Regions from separate parts of the Homo sapiens genome. Here regions 1 and 2 are each linked to region 3. The links are contacts of gene promoters, found by promoter capture Hi-C in blood cells and fetal thymus (Javierre and others, 2016). All regions are on one chromosome and are shown on one strand. The core of a region is centred on a gene start or on the middle of the fragment in contact, and the rest is flanking DNA. Distances in the headings are between cores, read along the strand shown.

Evidence for each region. The method cuts DNA at HindIII sites, captures the fragments that hold promoters and counts their contacts. A CHiCAGO score of 5 or more calls a contact.
Region 1: the fragment with the promoter of OR2A2 here is called in contact with the fragment with the promoter of TAS2R60 in region 3 in 10 of 17 cell types (naive B cells, activated CD4 T cells, total CD4 T cells and 7 more); the score reaches 18.9 in naive B cells.
Region 2: a contact is called between the fragment with the promoter of TRPV6 here and the fragment with the promoter of TAS2R60 in region 3, in 10 of 17 cell types (neutrophils, total CD4 T cells, monocytes and 7 more). The highest score is 12.7, in neutrophils.

Annotation. Positions count from the first base shown.
Region 1 is chr7:144,108,103-144,112,087 of GRCh38, reverse strand. OR2A2 (olfactory receptor family 2 subfamily A member 2) reads right to left here and starts at 2,505. Exons shown (of 1, transcript NM_001005480.2): 1 at 1,549-2,505. The coding sequence starts at 2,505. The coding sequence ends at 1,549. The HindIII fragment of the contact is 1,147 bases long and covers 2,349-3,495 here.
Region 2 is chr7:142,884,457-142,888,048 of GRCh38, reverse strand. It overlaps TRPV6 (transient receptor potential cation channel subfamily V member 6), which reads left to right and starts at 2,304. Exons shown (of 15, transcript NM_018646.6): 1 at 2,304-2,660. The coding sequence starts at 2,413. The HindIII fragment of the contact is 18,692 bases long and covers 1-3,592 here.
Region 3 is chr7:143,440,614-143,444,767 of GRCh38, reverse strand. It overlaps TAS2R60 (taste 2 receptor member 60), which reads right to left and starts at 1,315. Exons shown (of 1, transcript NM_177437.1): 1 at 359-1,315. The coding sequence starts at 1,315. The coding sequence ends at 359. The region is part of intron 2 of EPHA1-AS1 (EPHA1 antisense RNA 1); the gene reads right to left. The HindIII fragment of the contact is 8,585 bases long and covers 1-4,154 here.

The DNA of each region.
Region 1 (3,985 bases), core at 1,256-3,755, 670 kb before region 3:
CTTTACAAAAGAAGACATACAAGCAGCCAACAAACATGAAAAAATGCTCATCTTCACTAATAATCAGATAAATGCAAATCAAAACCACAATGACATTCTATCGTAAATCAGTCAGAATGGCTATTACTAAAAAGTCAAAACATAACAGATGTTGGCAAGGCTGCAGATAAAAGGAAACACTTATACACTGCTGGTGAAAATGTAAACTAGTTCAGTCATTGCAGAAAGAGGTTTGGAGGTTTCTTAAAGAACTAAAAATAGAACTACCATTCAACTCAACAATCCCATTACAGGGTATATACCCAAAGGAAAAGAAATATTTCTATCAAAGAAACACATACACGTGTATGTTCATCACAGTGCTATTCACAATAACAAAGGCATGGAATCAACCTAGGTGGCCATCAGAAGTAGACTGGATAAAGAAAATGTGGTACATATACACCGTGGAATACTACATAGCCAATGAACATGAAATTATGTCCTTTGCAGCAATATGTATGCAAATGGAAGCCATTATCCTAAGCAAATTAATACTGGAACAGAAAACCAAATACCACATGTTCTCATTTATAACTGGGAGCTAAACTTTGAGTACATATGGACATAAAGATGGGAAAAGTAGACACTGGGGACTACTAGAGAGTGTAAGGAGGAAGGGGGTGTGGACCGAAAAAAAACCTATTGGGTACTATGCCTAGTACCTGGGGGAGGGATCATCTGTACCACAGACCTCATCATCACACAATACACCCATGTAACAAACCTGCACATGTACAACCTGAATCTAAAATAAATGTAGAAATTATTTTTAAAATGTACACAAGAGAAATGTACACAAAGCATAAATGTATAGTGCAAGGGATTATCAGTAAATGGCCATTACCCAGCTGCCTTCCTACCCCTCCCAGTCACTATCTACTCCCTTCATCCTAATGATGTCTAATATCCTAGCTTTAACGTTATAGTTTAGTTATTGCCTATGTTTGAAATTTATGTACGCGTGGAATCATACATCCTTTTGTGTCTGGCTTCTATCACTCCAGATTTTGTATCACTCCAGATCTGTATCACTCCAGATTTTGTGTTTGTAATATTCATCCATGTTACTGTATGTTGAGGTTCATTCATTTTCTTTGTTACTTAGTATTCTGCTGTGTGAATATACAAGTTACTCAACTTCTCCCTGTTGATAGATATTTGGATTCTTTTCAGGTTTTAGCTATTATGAAACAATGCTGTTATCTCCTTTAACATCAGAGTTTCATTTTGCCTATTTCAGGAAATTATATAAAATGGCACTGTGACATAAAAAGTAAATAAATAAAAATAAAAGCAAAAAGATGTTCTAACACTTTTAAAGGAAAGGCTAAATATTCTGATAATTTTGCTCTCCTATCTACTGAGATGATTCCTCGATTTTAGAGAACATACATTCCATTGAATATTGCCCTATTTTCAAAGCTTGAATTCAATCACTCACCATTTTTATATTAAACTTCTTCTACAAAATATATTCAAAATTCTTGCTTCAGCAAACCACATGTTTTAAAGGCAAAGCCCATACACCGTTCTCATGGACCTCTTCCTCTGGAGTGCTCTGTGGAGGGCGCCCTTCAACTGAGCATTCCTCAGGCTGTAGATCAGGGGGTTCAGCATTGGATTAAAGACACTGTGAAACAGGGACAGCATTTTCTCCTGCTCCTCTCGTTGATTAGAGTCTGGGACCATGTAAACCACCATGGCTATGCCAAAGAATAGTCCAACCACACACAGGTGGGAGGAGCAGGTGGAGAAGGCCTTTATGCGGCCCTCCTTTGTCTGGATCTTCAGGATGGCCCCGAGGATGTGCATGTAGGAGACCAGAATCAAGGAAAGAGGCCCGACTAAGACAAACACACAGGTAGCAAATATGACCACTTGGTTAACCCAGGTGTCAGCACAGGCCAGCTTGAGGACAGACAGAATTTCACAGAAGAGGTGGTTCACATCCCGGGGCCCACAGAAGGGCAACCTTAGAAGGAGAATTTCATGTACCAGGGACAGGGCAAACCCACATGACCAGGACGTGAGAACCAGGATCGTGCACACTCTCCAGCTCATGATGACAGTGTACTGGAAAGGGTGGCAGATGGCCACATACCTATCATAGGACATCACCACCAAAATCAGGCACTCTGTAACAGCAAAAGCCAAATACAAAAAAGTCTGCATTATGCATGGAACAAAGGAGATGGTTCTTTTCTGGTTCATTAGGTTTGCCAACATCTTGGGAACATTGTTGGAAGCATAGGACATGTCAATGATGGCCAGGTGTGAGAGGAAGAAGTACATGGGTGTGTGAAGCTTAGAGTCCAGGCAGATAATCCCAAAGATGACCCCATTCCCCAGCAGGGTGAGTGTATAGAAGACAGAGAAGAGTCCACAGAGGAGAATCGCCAGTGCTGGACCAACCTGGAATCCCAGCAGGGTGATGTCTGTGATCCATGTCTGGTTGCCTTCCATGCTCTTGTGGCAGAGAAAGACAAACCCTCATCTAGGACAGGAAGGTCAGAGCTGTGGGTCAAAGATGCACAATATTTGCTGAGTGTTTCAGAGGGAGCATTAAGAAATGTATTATTTTGAATGGATTCTTTGTTGAATTTGTTTTCAAATATGTTACTGGAACCAACTCAATTATGCTCATGAAATTAAAAAAATCCTCTTCTACCAACAGAGTAATCGGAAAAAAAGTATAGCTATAATACTTCTTATATAAAAAAAAAATTAACATAAGGTGTAATATAATATATCTTGTATTACTGTATACACATACATGCATGGAAACACGTGTCATTTAGGAGAATTCAGGTACTCTGCTTCTTTTATAGGGTGGAATCCTTAGTTATTAACATAGTGAAATTAGAGATGACACTGACAAAATGCTGCAATACAAGATGGTTTTATATCCTGGGCATGCTTGAGTTTTTCTACCCAGTATGAAGTGGTTAGGGCATTCTGTTCTTCATATTCTTGCTTAGCAACCCATTTACCTTCTCACATGAATTCTACTTTCATATTTAAGATTGAAAATCTTTTGTAAATAGCTTTTCAACTTTGTAATTTCTTTAAAACTTCCTACAACCGTCATTTTTTCAGCCACTGGCCCATACTCCCTGGAAGCACCTCTGGTACCTATTTTCCATCTCTAGGGTTTGTAGTTCTATTTCAAGTATTTTATTTAATTCTTCATCAGCACTTGATGCTAAAATTTAGTCACACGTGAAAGAATTAAAATGGAAGAAAATGTAGGAAAATAGTTTCAAGTCTGTAAATCAAAATAGTAAATATATAATATACAAAAAATAAAAAGGCAATATACAAATATATAATAATATATAAAAGCAGTACAATATCCTTTTTATTATAATTTATTGAATCATTTTTCTTGTCAGAAATTTTTGGTTTCTATTTCTCTTATGTTTGGTAGCATTGAGATAAATATTCTTACAAGCTTATGTTTGGCTTATATTGATGATTTTTAATTGAGAATGTATTCTAAAAGTGAATTTGCAGGTGCTAAATATATTGAAATTTCAAAGCTTTTGATATCTATTTCCAGCTTTGCTTCAGAAAATTTACCAATACAAATTCTACTAATTTTTATCTATATAAATTCTATTATTTTATACCAATATAATATATCACTGATGTGTACCTCAGAATCATGCCTCTTTCCCACATGGTCATCACAACCATGTATTTTTATTTTCAACCTTTGCTAATTCGATAAGAGAACAATATTATCCAGTGTCAATTTGTACTTCATCCATCCTTTAACAAACGATCCTGGAGTGCATGATCTGTTTTAGCCACTGTTCTAAGCGCAGGAGGCACAGTGGTGGAGGTAGATGCATTCAGAAGGGGACCAGGTCATGAAGAAGTGAAGTTAAGGCAGTGTTCTCTTCAACTCCTCACATTCCCATTTAGAGGAGGAAATTGTTAT
Region 2 (3,592 bases), core at 1,055-3,554, 560 kb after region 3:
AAGTCTCCCTCCCAAAGCCTCCCTCCCCCAGCCTCTCTCCCCAGCGTAACGAAGGCCTCATTGCTTTCTCTCCTTCCCCACCAGACACTAAACTGGGGTCTTTGAAGCTAAATAGGTCTTTGAAGCGACAAACCACTGGCTTAATGGGCACAAAGGTCTTGGGGTTCAAGGTTTGGGTTCTAGCACCTTCCCCCAACCCAGCCCGAACCCACTGACCCAGGTGGGTGGGGACGAAGCTAATCCAATTGAACTGTTTGCTCAGGACTGCGTGGCCTGGCCTCTGCCCAGCGGCAGGAACACAAATAGCTTTCCACTTGAAGGGGTCCTTCTCTCCCCTGCCCTACCTCAGCATCCACCTCCCTCCACACACCGACTCCCCCCACACACAGCACATATGACACACACCCCATGACATACATACACACACAACACACACCATACATACACACATAGTAAACCCACCATACACTACACAAATCATGTATACACCACACACACACACACACATCATGTACACGCACACATACCTTAAAGGTACCATATACATCACCCACTACACACCATACACACAACACACATGCAACAATCTTTCCACAATACGTATATACACAACACACATGTCACACATACCATCACAGACACCACATCCACACGCTCTACAGGCCATACCTACACATATCACATATATCATACACACGTAGACACATACCAAACACACCACAGGCACATCATATACATACAGCATACCACACACAAAACACCCCACCGATGCACATCATGAACACACGCATAAACACCACACACAAATGCACATGGGCACACACGCCATACACACGCCACACACACACTCCCCTGGCTGGGTCTTCCAACTCTGAGTCAGAGAAAGTTAGGACAAAACAGACTCTGAAGCTAGGAAGTGATCCACACACCTGTGACTCTGAACACCCAGACACCTGCCCCTAGGCTATTGGCACCTGGCTGGCACCAGGAGGTTGGATAAGCCCGGGCTTCTGCCCCTTTCCAGTGGAAAAGTTGAACTAAATGACCTTTCCGACAGCTTCCAGCAAGCTCATGATGGAGCTCTTTGTTGTGGGAAGACGATGGGCCATGCTTAATGCCATCATTCTTCTGTATGACTGTGCGAGTCACTTAACCTCTCTGAAGCTCTGTTGGCCAGTTAGAATGAGGAGGTGTGCTAGGGAGAAAGAAGTGGGCTTGGAATGAGGGATGGGTGTGAATCTTGCCTCTGCCACCTCTATGGCCTTGGGAGAGTTCCTTTACCATGGTGAGCTTTGGTTTCTCCCATCAATACAATGTAGATAATAATACCTGCCTTGCAGGTTTGTTACGAGTTTACCTGGGAACGCTCAGTTAAAAGGCCCAGCACACAGTAGCAGCTGAATGTCACCTCCACGGGAAGGCTGGCAGATAGAATACTTGCAAAACGTGGGGTATATTTATACTAAAAAATTCTTTGTTGTTTATCTAAAATTCAAATTTGACCACGTGTCCTGTATTTTATCGGGCACCCACCCCATGCACGGGGCATTGTGGACAGTCTGTGGAGCTCCTGAGCAGGGGGTCTGCCCAGAGCTAGATTTTGTGCCCTGGCTGGTGAGCGAAGAATGCATTTTACATCTTTGGGGGTGGTTAGAAAACAACCACCAAAACAAAACCAAAGAATAACGTACATTAGAGAGTGTACATGGCTTGCAAAACCTAACATCTTTACATTTCCTATCAGCCCTTCCAGAAAAAGTTTGCTGACCCAAAGGTGATGGGGACTGAGAGGAAAGTCTGGGAGAACTGAGTATCTTCGCAATTTATATACCTATTTCAGGCCTGGCAAGAATGAAACTGGAAGAGTCCAGAAAATGGAATTCTCCAGGACATAAGCAGGGGGAGGCAGAGAGTGAGGCAGGTGGTCGGCAGAAGAGGCACTGTGGGAAAGTGGGGCGCTCCCTCCTGGGAGTCCTCAACATTGGGAATGGGCCTGCCCTGACTCCTCCCCTCCTTTCTCACTGCCTAGAGTCTCTCAGGGTAGGTCACTGGGTGTTCTGACGTCCAAGGGAGGCCTCGCCAGTCTTTCTGAAGGCCTCCCTGGTTGTGACTGGCCTGGGGGCAGGGAGAGAGCCCTGGGTGGAGAAAGAATTGGAGTTGGCACAAGTCCCCCTTGGTAGGCAGGTCTGTGGCTGGCCTGTGTCTTTAAATCTCAGGTAATTTGGGAGGAGGGAGGGCGTGTCCGTGCAGCTTTGGCTCCTCCTGCTCACTCCCAGCAGGAGCTCCAGACAGGCCAGCCCTGCAGAGTCCTGGCTGGCTCTGCCAAGTGTAACAAACTCACAGCCCTCTCCAAACTGGCTGGGGCTGCTGGGAGACTCCCAAGGAACTCGTCAGGAAGGCAGGAGACAGGAGACGGGACCTCTACAGGGAGACGGTGGGCCGGCCCTTGGGGGGGCTGATGTGGCCCCAAGGCTGAGTCCCGTCAGGGTCTGGCCTCGGCCTCAGGCCCCCAAGGAGCCGGCCCTACACCCCATGGGTTTGTCACTGCCCAAGGAGAAAGGGCTAATTCTCTGCCTATGGAGCAAGTTCTGCAGATGGTTCCAGAGACGGGAGTCCTGGGCCCAGAGCCGAGATGAGCAGAACCTGCTGCAGCAGAAGAGGTAAGGCCCCCTTGGTCTGCTCCCTTCCCCACCTCCCCAGGCCTGCACCTCTACCCCTCACCCCTCCCTCACCTCCCGTCTTTGTTTGGCACCTTTGGCTGGACAGATGGTGCTCCCAGGCCCGGACTGGCTCCTTGGGAGCATTCTGTCTTAAGAGCCTCAGCCTGTAGGGCTGGTGAAAGAGGATGGGGTTGAGATGGGCACAGGTGTTCACTATCTTAAGATCTAATTCGATTCTGCAAGCCTCTTGTGAGTACTTCTCTAAGGGCCAGGCGTCTTGCTGGGGCTTGTAAGGATAGAGCATCACAGCCCCTCCACCCAAGAGGGGACGGCAGGTGAGGACAATGCCTTCTGTATCTCCACTGCTTGCCTCTAGAACAGTCTCTCTGGCAGGAACACATAGTATACATATGTTCGCATGGAGGAATGAGTGAACGATTGAATGAATGAAGCAGAGAGAACCGCGGACACCAGGAACCAGAAAATAAGACAAAATGTGAAAAAAGTGACCATTCCTATGTATCTGTCTCATCAGACACTGACCAAGGCCTTACTATTTGCCCAGCACTGGGGGGATATGAAGACCTACAACGCTCAAACCCAACCTTGAGGTGTATTTCTCTCTCAGTGCGGGTGGGGACTGAGGGGAAGCGGGTCAAAATAACAGATGTTCCGAGGACCTGTGCTCTTCCGCATTCAGGTGGTGGAAATCGAGACTCTAGCGTTTAAGCCCTAAGGACATTCACTGGTGGCTTCCAGCCCCTGAAAACTTCCTAAACCCGTGTCCTGCTTTCTTCACCATGACAGCTTGGAGTACAGAGCAGGAGAGGAGCAGGGAATCGGAACTCAGGGCTATCCCTGCATGTGGTCTCTTCTTCAAGGTCTCTAATAGAGTTCTCTACCCAGTTGGTGGCATGCTAGAAGGAAGTCCT
Region 3 (4,154 bases), core at 66-2,565:
AGATAAAATATTGCATGAAGTTTGAGGATCTTTGCATCCAGTTCCCAGAATGATTATTTTAAATACGAAGAGATCGATCACAGGAAAAATAAAGGCTTCTGGATTCTTTGACCACATCAGGTCCCACAGGAACCATGGCCACATGAACTATGCACTTGGTGAGTACATAACATGACACTAGCCCATATTTCAGGACCTTTACTCTCACCTTGTATCCTATTTCATTGAAGTTATTTTTCTAATCATTAACTGTAGCAACAGAGAGAAAACATTCAATGTGGCAAAGAGAGAAGCTATGTCCCTTTGAGTCCATGCCTTCTCCACAAGAATCTCCTTGAAGTTTTTCATCAGCTGTGGCTCAAGGTGTCCCACACCTTGAGGAACGACGACTCTTCAGCACAGCTCTCAGCCTGCAGTTGCTGAAGAGCAGAATGATGGGGTGAACTGCTGCACACAGATAAATCACTGACTCCCACACCCAGAATTTAAAGTCCAGAGGTGGAAAAATACCTGCAGCACTGAACACCAGTGACAGGAAATATGAGATGAAGAGCATGGCAAAAGAGAGGAGAGCCAGCAGAGCCTTTATGTGTGCCTGCACACTGGGCTCTCGGAATCCTGAGGTTGTAAGGAGAGCCTTCTTCCTGTGTCTTCCCAGAGATGTGATGAGCAAAATCATGCAAATGAAAAAGACAGCAGTGGGCATTGTCCAAGTAATCATTTTTAGAGGGAAGAGATAGAATTTCTCACAGTAGCTCCGTATGCTATCGCCAGTGACATTCCAAGGTTGTAGATGGTTCCTTAAATAGTTCTGATACATTCTGTGGTTGCCTATGAAAAATAGAATGGTGGTGAAGCTGGAGAGCCCTACAGAGCTGAAGAGCATCCATGGTAGCCACCCAGACAACTTGTGCTTTAGCCAGAAGAAGACAGGGTGGGTGAAGGTAGCAATTTTCACACAATAGAAGACACTGAGCCAGGTAGAGGACCATAAGGTGGCAGCATTCAGGAAGTCCCACTGGAAAGCTAGAAACTGCAGTACAGGGTTGTATGGGAAGGCCATCGGATGCAAGAAAACATAAATGGTCTTACCCATTACCACTGACTGCAGACAGAAGCGAGAGGCCCCTAGGCTAACCAATAACTTATCACAAGGCAACAACATTCTCCGTAGCACCCACTCCACGCCCAGAGCAGCAGTGATGAAGCCATTGCCTGCTATTGCTACCAGGCGTAAAAGGAGTAAAATGGTAACCAAGATGATGGCCTTCTTGTCAGTCACCGAAGATCCTAGAACCATGTGGTCTCCATTCATCTCTCTGGTGGACAAGATGGGTCCCAAAACTTCAAGGGCTATCTCTGTTGGGTTGCTCTGGAAGGTCCTGTAGGATATGTTTGTCCCTCCAGCTGCCCCAAGCGCAGAAGCTAGGCCAGAGTAGAGGACGCAGGCTATCAGAGGAGGGTGAGAGGTTTTTTCTTCTCAGAGTAGATGCAAATATTGTCAAGGCTCAATTTTCAAAGTCCCCATACCTGCCCAAAAATTTGCCTGCTCTTCTGCCTATTCTCTGCCCATGTCAACATCAAAGTGGATAATATATCAGGCCCTGGCATTTAGTGTCCTTACACAGGAGGTTATACTTCTCTAAGCGGACACCTATGACAGGACCATGCACCTGCCAGCTCAGTAGTATCATCCGTGGGGCACACCCGCTACTGAGACAGCGCTCACATCCACGGGGGGGGGGTGATTGTTATGTTGCAGGCATTGTTCTGAGTGCTCTCCTTAGTTCTCACAACAACTCTATGCGGGGAGTAGTATGGCAAGACCCCTTTAACTGAGACAGAGAGAAAACTGAGCAAACCTTTACAGAGAAGGATTAATTCAAGTCTTATTACTCACAGTGACCATCATCATAAAAAAAGAACACTGGAGACAATTATACATAATGAGGCAGGCAACTTTTTTCAAAATTTAAAAATATATATTTGATAACTGGTGGCCTCTAAAATAGCACTTCACAGAGGAACCCCCAGTAGCGATAAGCCAATGGGATATGGCAGAATGAGCCCTGTGCTAGGAGTCGAGACAGCCTTTAGTCCAAACTTTACCCCTTACTGTGAGTTGCTGGATATGTCAGCCCCTCTGCGCCTCATTTTGTCCATCTGTAAAATATGAAAAGTATCCTATGTTCTAATTCACAAAGATGTCTTAGAATCTCGGCTTAGAATGAAAGAAGACATGAAAGATAATCTTACAGATAAAAGAAATAAGACCCCAAATTATATATTACAACTCCCACCTAAAGTCACAGTTACACAGAGGAAAGACCAAGATCCAAACTGATTCCAGGACCAGGAATCTCTGCCATGGTTAGCAATACATGTTACACCTCCATCTTCTTCATCCCTAGCTGAACTCAGAAGCCCAAGTTTTGAGTCTTGTCACAATCACTACGGATCCTCAAGCAGTTAACCTCTCTGAACACCCCCCTTTCTTCACCTATAAAAAATATGGGTCACAAATAAATATGACCATAAATATGGTAAATATATTGGAAATTATAAACCTCTGCATATGGACAAGGAGCAATGATGATGATGACAATTACTTTATTAGAATGGCTATCTTCTATTCCATCCATCCTGTGGCATAATAAGTAGCATAAGGAGAATTCAGGAGAGCATCAGGGATGCAACAGAAGTTCAGGGCACCAAATGTCAGACCACTGATATCAACCAGAGAAGGACAGAGTAAAAAAAAGACCACATTCTTTATAGAAATCAGCTTCAAAGAGTCAAAAAAATCAGCAATCAACACCCAGGTGAGTGTAAGTAGGTTAACGTGTCACAGGGAGATAGGAAAGCAGGAATTGTTCTGGGTCAAATACAGCAATATTGAAGGCTCAGGATCAAGTAACATGACAGTAAGGGGATTTGTAATGAATACACATCTGCTGACACCACAACCTACCAGTTCCATATATAGGACCCCCACAAAAAGGGAATAGAACGCATGTCAGCATCTCTTCCCAGTTCCCAGTCTACTTCCCAGTAGTCCACTTCCAGGTGGAATTGTTTCTTTAACACATACGCCAACCATAGTGGACATAGGTCTTCGGAGTAAAGGAAATAAGATGAACTAAGGTAATTCACTCTGCCTTTCTGTGAAGATGCAAATTTCCAGGAGATAGAGTTCCCAACTGCTCTCTTCCTTGCCCTTGTTCTTCTGGCTGACATTTGGCTGTTTTCTACTGGAACTTGGAGAAATGGGGCAAACTTCGGGCTTATAGCTCTGGAGTATGGCCACCTACAAACCGCCCAATATGGAAAACTTGAATCTTTTTCATCCACCTCCCACACCTTCAATGATAAAGATGTGCATTTAACCTTCAATTCATTTAATAATAATTTATTAAGCATATCCTATATGCCATGATAACCCTTTGAAAGACATTGGGCTACAACAGTGAATTAGATATCTGCCTTCAAAGCACTTTTATGGGCTAAACATAAACCACAAACATTTACTGGACATATACTATGTGCAGAGTAAGTTAATCCAAAAGAGGGAATAATCATTTGAATTTAAATATGCAATGTGTTTCGTGGTGATTCTTTTGTTGTTTGTTGTTTGTTTGTTTGTTTGTTGCATTTGGCTTTCTCATGTCTAGATTTATCTTCTTAGGTAAAAGTCAAGTCTGAGAGTTTTTAACTTTTCATAACCAGTCTTTATAAATGTAATCATGAGGGTAGTAGGATAGGGATCCTGAGTTAGCTCTCTATATGGAAAACCTTCAACTCAGTACTCTCAACAAGTGACTCCCAGTCTGTGGCTCTATGTGTTAGGGATCTTGCTATTCCCATCCCAAGATCTCTCAGAAGAGTTGAGAAGTAACAGCCCCATAATTGTGAGACAATAAAGATGCTGTCTTGCATGTTGGAAGGAAAAAGATGAGGCATCAGTAAAGGAGGGGGATACATGATTATATCCAGAACAATTAGATACATTTAGCTACAACAGAGGACTTACATAGAGAAGATGGCATATCAAGCCAAAAAGGTAGGCTGGAGAGAGATCACAGAAAATTTTGGAAGCCTTGATGAGATATTAGATTGTATCTTTAGTCAAGACAGAGCCACCAAGTGTTTTGGGG